2 separate regions of the Homo sapiens genome follow, and region 2 is linked to region 1. Evidence: promoter capture Hi-C in human tissues and cell types (Jung and others, 2019). All regions are on one chromosome and are shown on one strand. Each heading gives the region's core, a stretch centred on a gene start or on the middle of the fragment in contact. The rest is flanking DNA. Distances are from core to core; before and after follow the strand shown. Region 1 holds the start of N4BP3 (NEDD4 binding protein 3). Region 2 overlaps FAM193B (family with sequence similarity 193 member B).

Evidence for each region. The method cuts DNA at HindIII sites, captures the fragments that hold promoters and counts their contacts. A contact is called where the count stands out against the background at its distance.
Region 2: a fragment that was not itself captured here is called in contact with the fragment with the promoter of N4BP3 in region 1 in 3 of the 25 tissues and cell types used here (dorsolateral prefrontal cortex, spleen and thymus).

Annotation. Positions count from the first base shown.
Region 1 is chr5:178,109,020-178,115,696 of GRCh38, forward strand. N4BP3 (NEDD4 binding protein 3) reads left to right here and starts at 4,513. Exons shown (of 5, transcript NM_015111.2): 1 at 4,513-4,752. RefSeq lists silencers at 4,253-4,802, 4,883-5,202, 5,553-5,602, 6,213-6,322 and enhancers at 5,641-6,154, 5,683-5,742. The HindIII fragment of the contact is 21,734 bases long and covers 1-6,677 here.
Region 2 is chr5:177,544,154-177,550,830 of GRCh38, forward strand. All of the region lies in intron 1 of FAM193B (family with sequence similarity 193 member B), which reads right to left. Among named protein-coding and RNA genes, the nearest start is that of FAM193B, 7.1 kb to the right of the region's middle. The HindIII fragment of the contact is 4,436 bases long and covers 857-5,292 here.

The DNA of each region.
Region 1 (6,677 bases), core at 3,263-5,762:
TCAGAGCTGAGGAAACTAAGGCTCAGAGAGAGAAATTAAAGTGTCCCAGGTCAGCCAATTCAGGAAGTGGGTGCATCCAGGGAGGCTGGTTTCACTTCCCCTGGCCTGGTGCCCTGAGTGCCCCACCCCTTGGCATCTGAGCAGTGTGGCTCCCATGCCAACTCTACAGGAATGTCATGTCTGGGGGCAAGTGGCCCCTTGCAGGGGCATCTGCTGTGCAGGTCCAGGAAGGTAAATAAAGTTCACTGAATACAAGATCCCCCCATCCCAGCAGGAGTCCAGCTTGGCCTCTCCCATACTGTCCAGGCAGATGTTGGAGGGAAGAAAAGAGGCCTGGCCTCCTGTTGGTTTCTGCCTCCTCACCTCTGCCCAGCCCACTTTCTTCTCTCAAAGGCCTCAGCAAGGCCAATGGGAGGCCAAGGTCAAGGAGACGGGGTGAGAACAAGAGGCAGCCCGCATGGACAGGACAGGAGCGCAGTGCAGTTGAGCACCTTCTTTTTCTTTTTTTTTTTTTTTGAGATGGAGTCTCGCTCTGTCAGCCAGGCTGCTGGAGTGCCGTGGTGCAATCTTGGGACACTGCAACCTCCACCTCCCAGGTTCAAGTGATTCTCCTGCCTCAGCCTCCTGAGTAGTTGGAACTATGGGAGTGCGCCATCACATCTGCCTAATTTTTGTATTTTTAGTACAGACAGATTTTCACCATGTTGGCCAGGCTGGTTCTCGAACTCTTGATCTCAGGTGATCCACCTGCCTTGGCCTCCCAAAGTGCTGGGATTACAGGCATGAGCCACTGTGTCCTGCCTTTATTTATTTATTTATTTATTTATTTTTGAGACGGAGTCTCGCTCTGTCGCCCAGTCTGGAGTGCAGTGGCACCATCTCGGCTCACTGCAAGCTCCACCTCCTGGGTTCATGCCATTCTCCTGCCTCAGCCTCCCGCGTAGCTGGGACTACAGGCGCCCACGACCACACTCTGCTAATTTTTTGTATTTTTAATAAAGATAGGGTTTCACCGTGTTAGCCAGGATGGTCTCGATCTCCTGACCTCGTGATCCTCCTGCCTCGGCCTCCCAAAGTGCTGGGATCACAGGTGTGAGCCACCGTGCCCGGCCTTTTTTTTTTTAAAGACAGGGTCTTGCTCTGTCACCTAGGCTGGAGTGCAGTGTTCGATCATAGCTCACTGCAGCCTCTGATTCCTAGGCTCAAGGGATCCTTTTGCCTCAGCCTCTCGAGTAGCTGGGACTATAGGCACCACTGGCTTGGCTAATTTTTTATTTTTTTATAGAGATGGGGTCTTGCTATGTCGCCCAGGGAACTCCTGGGCTTAAGCAATGCTCTCACCTCGGCCTCCTAATGCGTTGGCATTACAGGCGTGAGCCACTGCACCCAACCCAGAATCTGAGTTTTCATCAGAACTTAGCTGTGACCTCTCTCTCTCTTCCTCATGCCATTTCTTGCAAGTGGATTCTTATAAGAACCTTCATTCAAACCCTCTCATAAACATCTCTATCACTGTCTCTCCCACTCAGTTGACAGAATGAACACCTTCTCGGCAGCTTCCAGCTTCCAGGTCCTCCTTGGCCCCATTTCTTTCCCTAGAGACCCAGGGGACCCGACCTCCCTGCCTGCCTGTGCCACCTCACAGGCCCCACGTCCAGCTGCGTGCACAAGCTCCTCTCTCTCAATGCTTCGGAGGCTCCCAGCGCCCACTTCAAGAGGCTTCTCTGGGTCTGCTCTCGGTTGCCACCTTCGTCCCTTCCCACCACTAACCTTTCCCACCCAGGGCTTGGACCTTGCTAGCAAGCTGAACGTGCCCTGCCTTCTCTAGCCCTGCTATCTGCTCTGCTGGGAACACTCCTCAGTGGAAATGCTTCCAGGACCATCTCAAAAACCATTGCTCCAGTGAGGCCTTTCCTTGGGTCCCCCAAACAGCCAAACAGGTTCTTGCTCTGAAACTTTATCTGTCCCAGTGAGTAACCCTACCAGACTGGCTCCTCAAGGGCTGAGACCCACAGCAGCTATTAATGAGTTTTCTTAGACAAGTATTCTGAAGTCTGGCAGTTCTATTAGAAATTCTGGCCGGGCGTGGTGGCTCACGCCTGTAATCCCAGCACTTTGGGAGGCCGAGGCAGGTGGATCACCTGAGGTCGGGAGTTCAAGACCAGCCTGACCAACCCCGTCTCTACTAAAAATACAAAATTAGCCGGGCATGGTGGCACACACCTGTGCCAACCAGCTACTCGGGAGGCTGAGACAGAAGACTCGCTTGAACCTGGGAGGGGGAGGTTGCAGTGAGCTGAGATCACGCCATTGCACTTCAGCCTAGGCAACAAGGGTGAAACTCCATCTCAAAAAAAAAAAAAAGTTGCCGGGCGCAGTGGCTTATGCCTGTAATCCTAGCACTTTGGGAGGCCAAGGGGGGGTGGATCACGAGGTCAGGGGATCGAGATCATCCTGGCTAACATGGTGAAACCCCATCTCCACTAAAAATACAAAAAATTAGCCGAGTGTGGTGGTGGGCACCCGTAGTCCCAGCTATTTGGGATGCTGAGGCAGGAGAATGGCGTGAACCCGGGAAGCGGAGCTTGCAGCGAGCTGAGATCGCACCACTGCACTCCAGCCTGGGCGACAGAGCAAGACTCCATCTCAAAAAAAAAGTTCTTTCAGCCAGGCATGGTGGCTCACGCCTGTACTCCCAGCACACTGAGAGGCTGAGGCAGGCAAATCATTTGCCTTAATTGATTTGCCCACCTCGTCTTCCCAAAGTGCTGGGATTACAGGCGTGAGCCGCCATGCCTGGCCAGAAGTTCTTCCTAGAGGTTCTATGCTGTCCTAGCAAGAATTGGTAAGAACAGCATAGAACACAAGGGGTTGCAAATTTGTGGGCCGTAGACCAAATCTGTTCCACAAGTGACAAGATGTTTTTTAATTGAGGTAAAATGTGCATACCATAAAATTAGCCGTTTTAAAGCAAACAATTCAATGACATTTGTATATTCATAACGTTGTGCAACCACCACCTCTGTCAGGCTCCAAAACATTTTCCTCATCCCAGAAGGAAACCCTATGCTTGTTAGGCAATCACTCTGCCTTTCTCTCTCCCCACAGCCTCTGGCTCTAATCTGCTTTCTGTTTGTCTGGATTTACTTATTATAAATGGCATCATTAACACATGTGGGCTTTGTGTCTGGTTTCTTTCACTTGCCATGTTTTGGAGGTTTATCCATGTTGTAGCAGGTATCATCAGTGTTTCATTCCTCTTTTTCTTTTCTTTTCTTTCTTTTTTTTTTTGAGACAGGCTTACGCCATCATCCAGGCTGGAGTGTAGTGGCACAATCTCCGTTCATTGCAACTCTGCCTCCTGGGTTCAAGCAATTCTCCTACCTTAGCCTCCCGAGTAGCTGGGATTACAGGCTCGCTCCACCATGCCTGGCTAATGTTTGGTGTTTTTGGTAGAGATAGAATTTCGCCATGTTGGCCAGGCTGGTCTCAAACTCCTGACCTCAAGTGAGCCGCCTGCCTCGGCCTCCCAAAATGCTAGGATTACAGGGGTGAGCCACCACATCAGGTCTTTTTTTTTTTAAGATAGAGATGGAGTTTTGTGAGTTGCCCAGGCTGTTCCTGAACTCCTGGCCTCCAAAAGTGCTGGGAGAGTTCAGACATGAGTCATCACATGGCGTTCATTTCTTTTTTATGGCTGAATAATATTCCACTGAATGGATCTACCATTGTTTGCTTACACCCTCATCAATTGTTAGTTTGGGCTGTTTCCACCTTTTGGCTCTTTGACTATTGTGACTAGTACTGCCAAGAACATTACTTGTTTGAGGACTATAATTGCCGGATCATATGGTAACTCTATGCTTAACTTTTGAATTAGAAACGGTGTTTTAATTTTTCGAATATGACTCCTTTACGTGTCTGTGTCTGTTTCCATGTCTTCCTACTGTCTTAGTAGGAAGCTCACGACTCATTTGCGTAATTTTTCTGGCCCCTGAAGGCACCTGATTTTGCTGCCCCTAGAATACTTTGGAGGCAAAAAGAAAATAACTCTGTGCCCAATTCAGCCAGAGTCGTGGGGTAAAATCTTTTCACTTCTCAAAGTACTACTGTGGTTCATCCCCAAAGGGGGGAAATCAGGTTTTCCGGAGAGGAGGCGGCTACAATTAGGGAGGTGAGGGACCTCACGCGCCTCTTCCTTAGAGGAGGCGGGCGAGGCGAACGGCGGAGGAGGAGAAGCGGGGGCGCTGTGCGCTCTCTGGGGCGTGGGCCGCGCTCGGGGCTGCCCACCCCTCGGGAACGAGCCGGGGCGCTCAAGGAGGCAGCGACGCGAGGCGCAGCCGGTCCAGGTTTCGCCCGCCACCGCCGTGCGGCGCCTCTGCGGGTCAGGGCCGGGGGCGCGGTCGGGGCCGGGCGGGGCCCAGGTTGGCTCGCGGGTAGGCGGCCCCGCCCCCCACATCCGGGGGCCGGGGCCGGGCTGTGGGCTTGCCGCGCGCCGGTGAGTCAGGCCGGGTTTTCCCTCCGCCTTTGGGGCAGGCGATCGAGCGCCGCGGAGCGCGTCCCTCCCTCGCCAATCCGGCTCCGGCGCCGGCGCCCGCCCGCGTTTTCCCGGCGCCTGCCGCTCCGCCGCTCCGACCCGGCACGCAGTCCCGGCCCGAGCCGACGCCTTGCAGGAGGGTTCAAATCCGCGCGGGGGAGCTGCGACGCGCAAGGGCTGCGGAGCCGCGGGCCGGCGAGCGCGTCGCCACCATGGTAAGTGGGGCGCGCGAGGGGCTGGGGACCCGGGCTGGACTCGGGGGGTGGGGAGGGGTGGGGCGGGTCGCCAAGGTCTTGTTTTCGGGCGTCCTTGGCAAAGCTGCTGTCCCGCTGGCCGAGGCTCCCGTCTGAGAGATGGGCGGGGGTGGCAAGGTGCGGCGTGCGCCCAGGTGTCCCCTGCTCCCGGTCACCGAGGCACCGGATCGGGGACCGACCCCGATGCTCCGCTGGAGGGGCAGGCGGCAGGCTACCTTGCTCTCCCCAACCCCTGCAAACGCGCTTTCCAGGGAGCAGCGCGCGGGACCCCTGCGCCACGGCTGGGTGGGGCAGGCGTCCTTGGCGCCGGCGTCTGACCTCGGCCTCCGCCCCCCGGCCCAGCCGCTCCCGGCAGGCCTCAGGGAGGGGCCAGGAGGAGACGCGCCTCCCACCCCGCCCCCCAGGTAGCTCCGGGACCTCCCGCAGCTTTGGGGAACCCTCGCCTTCACCCCTGCTTTCCTGACACAAATTCCGTGGGGATGCAACCTCGTTTGCCCCTCTGACTTCCCCATGAGATCTCTCGCTTCCTCCCACACCTCCTTTATCCCCCAACCCCCTGCCGGTCCACCAGGCTGCAGCTGCGGGTCTGCGGGTAGGGGACATTCCTAGGTCTTGACCGCCAGAGCACCCGGTCCAGTCCCGGCCACAGCCTTTGGCCCAAGTGAGGGCTGGCCTGGGGACAAGCCGAAATCAGGGCCCTGGCTGTATCCAGAAAGAGAACTGAGACCCGTTGCCTCCCACTGGGCCACCCCCCGACCCCAACCACATAGGAACAGATTGGGCCTGGCTGTCCTCGGGAGGGAGCGGACGCAGGAGGCCATCCTGGGCGCGGTTATCAGCCTCCTCCCAGGGCCCTCCCAGGCAGGGCTTCTCTACCGGCTGGCAGCGTGTGGTGTGCATGTGCCAGACTGTGAATGAATGCGGCCAGCCTGCCTCTGCCACCGCCTCTAGAGCTAGCATAGCGACTCGGAGTCCCCATGAGGCAGGTTTCCTCTATTTCTTCCTGACCTGGGGGGCAGCAGGAGGGATTCCAGGCCTGGTGGACCGCAGTCTAGGGCAGCCTGGTTGCAAGTGTCCTTGGGAGAAACAGGCATGGAGGGCTGGGCAGACATATATGCAATACATACACAGCAGTGTGTGCCCATGGAGGGGAACCCGTGACCCCTGGCTTAGGACAACCTGCTGAGGTAGAAAGGACCTTGCCCAGGGAGTTGAGATTGCTTCTCACTGTGGGATCTTGGATAACTCACCTCGCCTTCCGAGGCCTCAGTTTCCCGATCTGTAAAATGGCGTGAGGGTAATTACTGTCCTGTTTGCCCCCACGAGGCTATTGTGGAGATGAAATGAGATAATGAAATAGAAGGGCTGAGAAAAAACTGTAGACTGCGGTGCAGCCGTGAAGCACTATATGGTGATACTAAGCACCACTTCCGCAGGCTTTAGCCCCTGTCTCTGCCTCAAGTGTCTGTCACAGAGGGGATGGGGTGGGCCAGCCTCTCCCAGCCCCTCTCTGGGCCCCCCTTGCCTACTACCCCCCCCTTTTGGAGCTGGGACATTCCAGTCCCATTCCTTAGGGGCAGCTGCAGACACGCCCCTTAGCAGAGCTGATCCCCCAGCAGGTGGTGGGACCTTTCCCTGGGGCCAGGGCTCAGGAGGGGCTGACTGTAGCCAGGGCAGGCAGCACTCCTGCCCATGTGGGGACTGGAATGTCCCACCCCAGAGGAGATGCAAGGTGGGATCCGAGAGGACTTCTAATCCTGGAGCCTGTGTGCTTTCTCCCCTGCGGCTGAACGTGACCTTAGGCGTGTTACTTCACTTTCTGAACCTCAGTTTCCTCTTGTGAAGTGGGGGATGACAGAACTCATCTCCTGTGTGTCTTGTGAGGA
Region 2 (6,677 bases), core at 1,825-4,324, 570 kb before region 1:
GTGTGAGATTACTCACAAGGGATCCATGCTGTAGCATGCACATCCCCAGAGCAGTGAAGGGGCCAAGTGAGCTCTAGGTGCACTCTAGGGCCTAGGGGGCTGGCATCTGTAGCCATTAAAACCATTATCTCTGCTCCCTTACCAGATCAGGCCCAAGACTTTTTTGTCTTGGCCTGAGAAGCATTAAGTTAGGGCATTCTAGTTTTTCCTGGATAAAAGAGAGATAAAATCAAAGGAAGAGGAAGCCACTTTTTTTCATGGAACACCATTTTTTAACTGAAAGAATGACTTACTATTTAGACTTGGGTATTGGCAGACATTTTCTCAAAAAAATGAACAATGAATAAAATGAGCCTGTCACTTCAAGGAAAACAACTGACAGTATTTGTGGGCAATGATATAAAATGCAAGCTTTCAAGTGAAAATTAAAATTCTGAAACTTGCATCTACCACCATGAGTTTGACAGCTTCCAAATACTTGAAGACTTTTCTGATGAAATTGGTGGTGATATTAACAAATGTTATCTTTTGGCATTGTAAAATGAAATGGAAAACATTTGGAAGATGTGCAAAATCCAGTGAGCCTATTTTCCAAATGACCAAAGCATGATGGATTCAAAGCACTGGCTCGACCAATAGATTTTAGTGTAAATGAGTATGAAGACTTCACTGATATGGGCTCAAATTCAATAATGGAAATTATTTGGAAAGGCTACTGAAACATTCCTCCCTTTCTCACTTACATATTTGTGTGAGGTTGGATTTTTTTTCATATACTTCAACCAAAACAATGTATTGCAAAAGACTGAATACAGAAGCATATATGAGAAGCCAGCTTTAGTCTATTAAGCCAGATGAAAAGAAATTTGCAAAAATGAAAAGAAGACCATTCTTCTAATTTTTTTTTTAAGATGAAATCTCGCTCTGTCATCCAGGCTGGAGTGCAGTGGCATGATCTCAGCTCACTGCAACCTCCACCTCCCATGTTCAAGCGGTTCTCCTGCCTCAGCCTCCCAAGTGGCTAGGATTACAGGCGCCTGCCAATACGCCTGACTAATTTTTATATTTTTAGTAGAGACAGGGTTTCACCATGTTGGCCATGCCGGTCTTGAACTCCTGACCTCAAGTGATCCGCCTGCCTCAGCCTCTCAAAGTGCTGGCATTACAGGCATGAGCCACCACACCTGGCCATTCTTCTAATTTTGTTTTGGAAAATATAGTTTTCATTAAAAATTGTTATGTTAACAAGATAGCTTTAATATTGTCTTTCTTAAATAAATTAGTGACAAAATATTTTAAAGCTTTCTCAGCTTTAATATTTAATTTGGTAAGTATCAATAGATATAAACAACACAAACAAAAGCTCTTTGGGTTCCTCAATAATTTTTAGGAATATATAAGGTCTCCTGAGGTTGGAGGATTGCTCAAGCCCAAGTGACGGAGGTTGCAGTGAGCCAAGATTGCACCATTGTACTCCAAACTGGGTAACAGTGAGAGCCTGTCTCAAAAAAAAAAAAAAAAAAAGATAGCTCTCTGGGGGCATGACTCAATTTTCTAGCTTGGCCTTTCTGTCCACAATTTGGGAATAACCCATTGCCAGACCAGACAGCTGTCAAGGACTACTCTGAAGCTGGATTGAATTTCCAGCACTCAGCGTGGCCTCATTCATCCCATGGATTCTTTTTCATCTCCAGAGTTTGTGTATGTTCGTACAGGATTGCCCCAAGACACATGCTGTATCTAACCAGCTGCCCTGCAACAGGTCCCAAATTCTATTTTGAAATGGCCCATTAGAGCACTCTACTCTCAAGGCACCCAACTCCAAGAGCCTCTCTGTCACCAAGGCAGGCAGAGGACAACACCAGCAGCTAAAATTCCCTTTCAGAAGCAGAGAAAATGATTAATCCTCAGCCTAGAAAAACTCATTGTCATAGTTATCATCAGTCACTCTTCCATTCACCCATTTATTCCCTCATTCAACATTGTCAGAGTCCCTGTCTCCTGCCAATTGTGCTAAGTGCCGGGAAACATCTACCCTTGACAATTCCTATTCATTCCCTAAGATTCTGGTCAAAGGTCAATGAAGCTCTTGCTGGTCAAGCTAAGCACAACTGATTCTATTTAGTATAGCATCATCAAAATGTGCCACAGATGTATTCTGTCTGTTCCTAAATTCCTGGTAGAATGTGAGCCCTCTGGGGGCAGTGTGTGGACCTTGGTCATTTAAGTATGCCCAGGAACCTAGGCTTGGCTTGGGCCTGACACATTGCAGGCATTCACTGAATAAATAAATGAAAGCTTAAAGCCCATCTGGCTCATGTCTCAGCTGTTCAACACAAAGGCAGAATTTAAAACAGAGCCAAAACAGTGCATTTCCCAACATGCTATGAGTCACTCTGAGCCACTGATGAGAGGGCAATCAGTGAGAAGAATCTCAGACTATTCTAATGCTGACAATCAGAGCTGCAGTTAATTCTAAGAGAGCTGACACAACCCCACCTCAGTGCCCTGGAGCTGTTACCCAAACTTCCATGCAGGCTGTGGGCTCAGGCCCTTCCAGGAGGTAGAACAGCTGTTTCACACTACGAGACTAGTCAGTGGAGAATCCTTTCTGGTTGTACAAGCTCGGTTGGGAGTGAGTCTCTCTGATCCTAGTGACCTTAACCCTAAAACTTTCTGTTTTAATATCCCCACAAGGCTAGCTCATCCGCTGAACTGCCTCCTGGGTGCAATGAGCCACAAGGAGGGCCCAAGCCGCAGATTTACCTGAATCCTCAGGTCAAACTGCCACTCTGCTACTCTAACCCCAGCACACGTTACTCATGGAGGAGGAAGAGCATGAATTTTGGGGACGAGACACACAGTTGTGAGTTCAAATCCCAGTTGCCATTTTCAATATGATCTTGGAATATTACTCAATTTCTTTGAGCCTCAATTTCCTCATTTATGAAATGGGAATAAAACCATATTTTACAGAGTTGTGAGGACAGAAGGAAATAAATTATGTAAAGTACCTGGCCTGGGCCTGGCACAAAGTAGGTGCTCAATACCCGTTAGTTTCTTTCCTCTTCTGCCCTGGAAGAAATGACAGGGAAACTTACTAAGTGAGACTTGCCCAAACCAAATTTATTTCTTTTTTTTTTTTTTTTGAGACGGAGTTTCGCTCTGTCGCCCAGGCTGGAGTGCAGTGGCGCGATCTCGACTCACTGCAAGCTCCGCCTCCCGGGTTCACGCCATTCTCCTGCCTCAGCCTCCTGTGTAGCTGGGACTACAGGCACGCGCCACCATGCCCGGCTAATTTTTGTATTTTTTAGTAGAGACGGGGTTTCACCGTGTTAGCCAGGATGGTCTCGATCTCCTGACCTCGTGATCCTCCCGTCTCGGCCTCCCAAAGTGCTGGGATTACAGGCGTGAGCCACCGCGCCCGGCCCCAAATTTATTTCTTGAAGCAAAGGACAGAAGGACTAGACAAGTGACTTCAAGGCCTCTTTGAACCCCCAGCTCCTTGTTTTCTGGCTATAACTTCCTAATAAAACCTTCAGTGTTTGCAGTTCCACCAGCCCCTTCTTTCTGCTTTAGTTTCCCTACATCATTTTTCACAGTAGATAGATCTACTCGTAGCTACCACTTGTGCTAAGCATCCTAAGCATGGAGGGGGAAATAATAAAGGGAGCTAAGGGCCTTTGGTGGAGAATGAAGGGGAGATGGACTGCAGCATGTTGGCCCACAGGCTGCACAACCATGCAGCTGCTGTGCTGGGAGCCACCCAGAGTCTGAAGGATGAAGGCAGGCTCACAGGCACAGAACCGAAGGCACACACACAGGGCCCTTCCCAAGACATAGCATGCCTCTCCTCAGTCCTTCTCTGCTTCTGCACATCCTGCCAAGAAGGACCAAATACATAAAGTAGTCACACCTTCCCATATGCTGTTCCTTCTGCCTTTTTCTTCTCTTTTTTTTAGGCTCGATCTGGGTGTTACATCCTCTTAAGTCCACAGGAAGAATGAACTTGGCTTTGCTCTAGGATATCCTAACACTCTTTTGTTTAAAAACGTATCTCTAGAATAGAGCTTATCATATATATTCTAGTGGTTGAAATCTGTCCTTTCCACAATACTGTGAGCTTTTCAAGGGCAGAGCCTGTGTCCCACAAGTCACTGTATTGCAGTCATTCAGCAGAAGCTGTAGCACAGAGTAGGCACAGGTAAGTGTTTGGATACACAATGGAAGATTATACACAATGGAAGTTGGCAAATATCATTAATAGATCAGAACTGGGGGAAGGTTTTTTGTTCTGTTTTAAACTAAGGTTGTTTCTGTTCTTGTTTATGGAAAAGCTCCTCCCTGGGAAACCCACTGTTTGAAGAATACCCTAGGTCTCCTCAAAGATCCCCCTGGCACCCTCAATTCAGCAGCTCCCAGACCCAGTCACATGTCAGAGTCACTTGGGAACAATTCAACAATAGATACCTGGGATCCAGACCTGGAGACTGACTCTGTAAGTCTGGGATAGGGTCCAGCAAAGCACAGGGGATCTGATGATTATTAGCTTGGGGCAAGGGAGAGGTGGAATCAAGCAATCACAGCTGTCTCTCCCACTGAGAATTACTTCCTCACATGCTATCAGAGAATGTATTGAAGCACATCACGTTCTCTTTCCTGCTTAAAACCTTTCATTGATTCTTCACCACCTACAGGATAAAGCCTAAACCTCTTGGTGTGGTTTTCAAGAACCCTGCTAGCCCCTTCAGCCGGATCTCTCCCGACTCTCCAAATGAGTGGTGCTCGCCCTGGGTCTTTGTACAAGTTCCTTCCTTTGTTTAGACTCCTTTCTACCACCTTGTCCTCTGGAGAACTTCTACACAACCTTGAAGACTCAGCTCTGAGAAGCATTCTCTGACCCATCTTCCTCTAGGTTATGTCTTGGGCAACCCTGACACCAAATATCTACAATACTCAGAGCTACCACTTGTGTTAAGCATACCGCACTTGTTGGACCCTAACATTAACCATGTAAGACTGGATTGTCTTTTCTTTTTTTTTTTTTTTTTTTTTTGAGAAAGGAGTCTCGCTCTGTCGCCCAGGCTGGAGTGCAGTGGCGCGATCTTGGCTCACTGCAAGCTCCACCTCCCAGGTTCACGCCATTCTCCTGCCTCAGCCTCCAAAGTAGCTGGGACTATAGGTGCCCGCCACCATGCCCGGCTAATTTTTTTGTATTTTTAGTAGAGACAGGGTTTCACCGTGTTAGCCAGGATGGTCTCGATCTCCTGACCTCGTGATCCTCCCGCCTCGGCCTCCCAAAGTGCTGGGATTACAGGCATGAGCCACCGCGCCCAGCCTGGATTGTCATTTTATACATGAGAAAACAAACCAAGAGGCTGAAACACTTGCAAAGGCCACTTAATAGGGTCCAGGATTTGAACCTTTATTCAGAGGAAGCCGATGCTATATCTCCTTCTAGCATTACTGCAATTACTATACACACGTTCTCTAGACTATGAGCCCCTTGTGGGAAGGGACTATGTCTGATTCACTTCTGCATGCGCAGCTAGCCCAGGCCTGGCACAGAGCTGGGATCGGTTAGTGTCTGCACAATAAATGCCATGTGAAATAAAACTGGGCATCACAGCATGCGAATGGCTGGCCTAAATGAATAACTGCCAGCCTGGCCCAGTTGTGGGGGCAGACAAGAACAAAGTGGTAGAATCCTTACTTATTATAATTTTTAACAGCCATGTATTGAGTATATAAGGTCCACACACAATATATTTCCCCCCAAATAAATTAAAACATAGACCCTGCTCTAAAAAATTCTAGATGAGGTAAGTAAAGGTGTTAGGATCATCCATCTGATATCAAAAATTAAAAATTTAAAACTCAGCTGGGTGTAGTGGCATGCACATGTAGTCCCAGCTATTTGGGAGGCTTAAGGAGAAGTATCACTTGAGTCCAGGAGTTTGAGGATAGCCTGGGCAACATAGCAAGATCCTATCTCTAAATTAAAAAAAAAAATTAAAATCCTAAGTGGGTAAGTCTTCATTTTCAAAGGTCTTTTGACATTTTTATATAGTGAGTCTCTACTGGCTTACAAAGAAGAACCAGAGGTGGCAAGGATCCCCTCAGTATCATTTCCTCCTACTGACAATGGAAGTAGTGCAGGCTGGGTAGGCACTGATTCTAAGGGGGAGGTCCCCAAAGATAGGAACTATCTTATCCATCTGTGCACCCCAAATAAAGGTCCTGGCACAGAGGTGGTTTTGGTATCTGCTGAGTGAATTAAACATAATGAGATGCTTTTATTAAAGATACTGACTAATCATCTGCTCCAATTTCTTGAGGGAACAGTGGAAGAATCGGATCTCTAGAGTCCCTTTAAACTAGACTGGGCAAAGTCCCAGAGGACAATGTGGAGGGAACAAGAGGTGGGGAAGGGTAGGATGAGTTCACCTCTCCTCACCAACTGCTGGCTTACATCCTAGCAAGTCTCCTGGGGGCTTATTGAGTGTACACTGGATTACAAACTCAGTGGTCCAAGAGAGATGAAAGACAGCTAGCAGAGCTAACAGGCCAGAACACTCAGGCTTTGTATGGCCACCTGGCACAGCTCCTGCCCCCTCTCTTAGGTGAGGCGCTTCTATGTACTAGCTGCTGCATAGGTTGCTTCTCTTGTGAAGTAT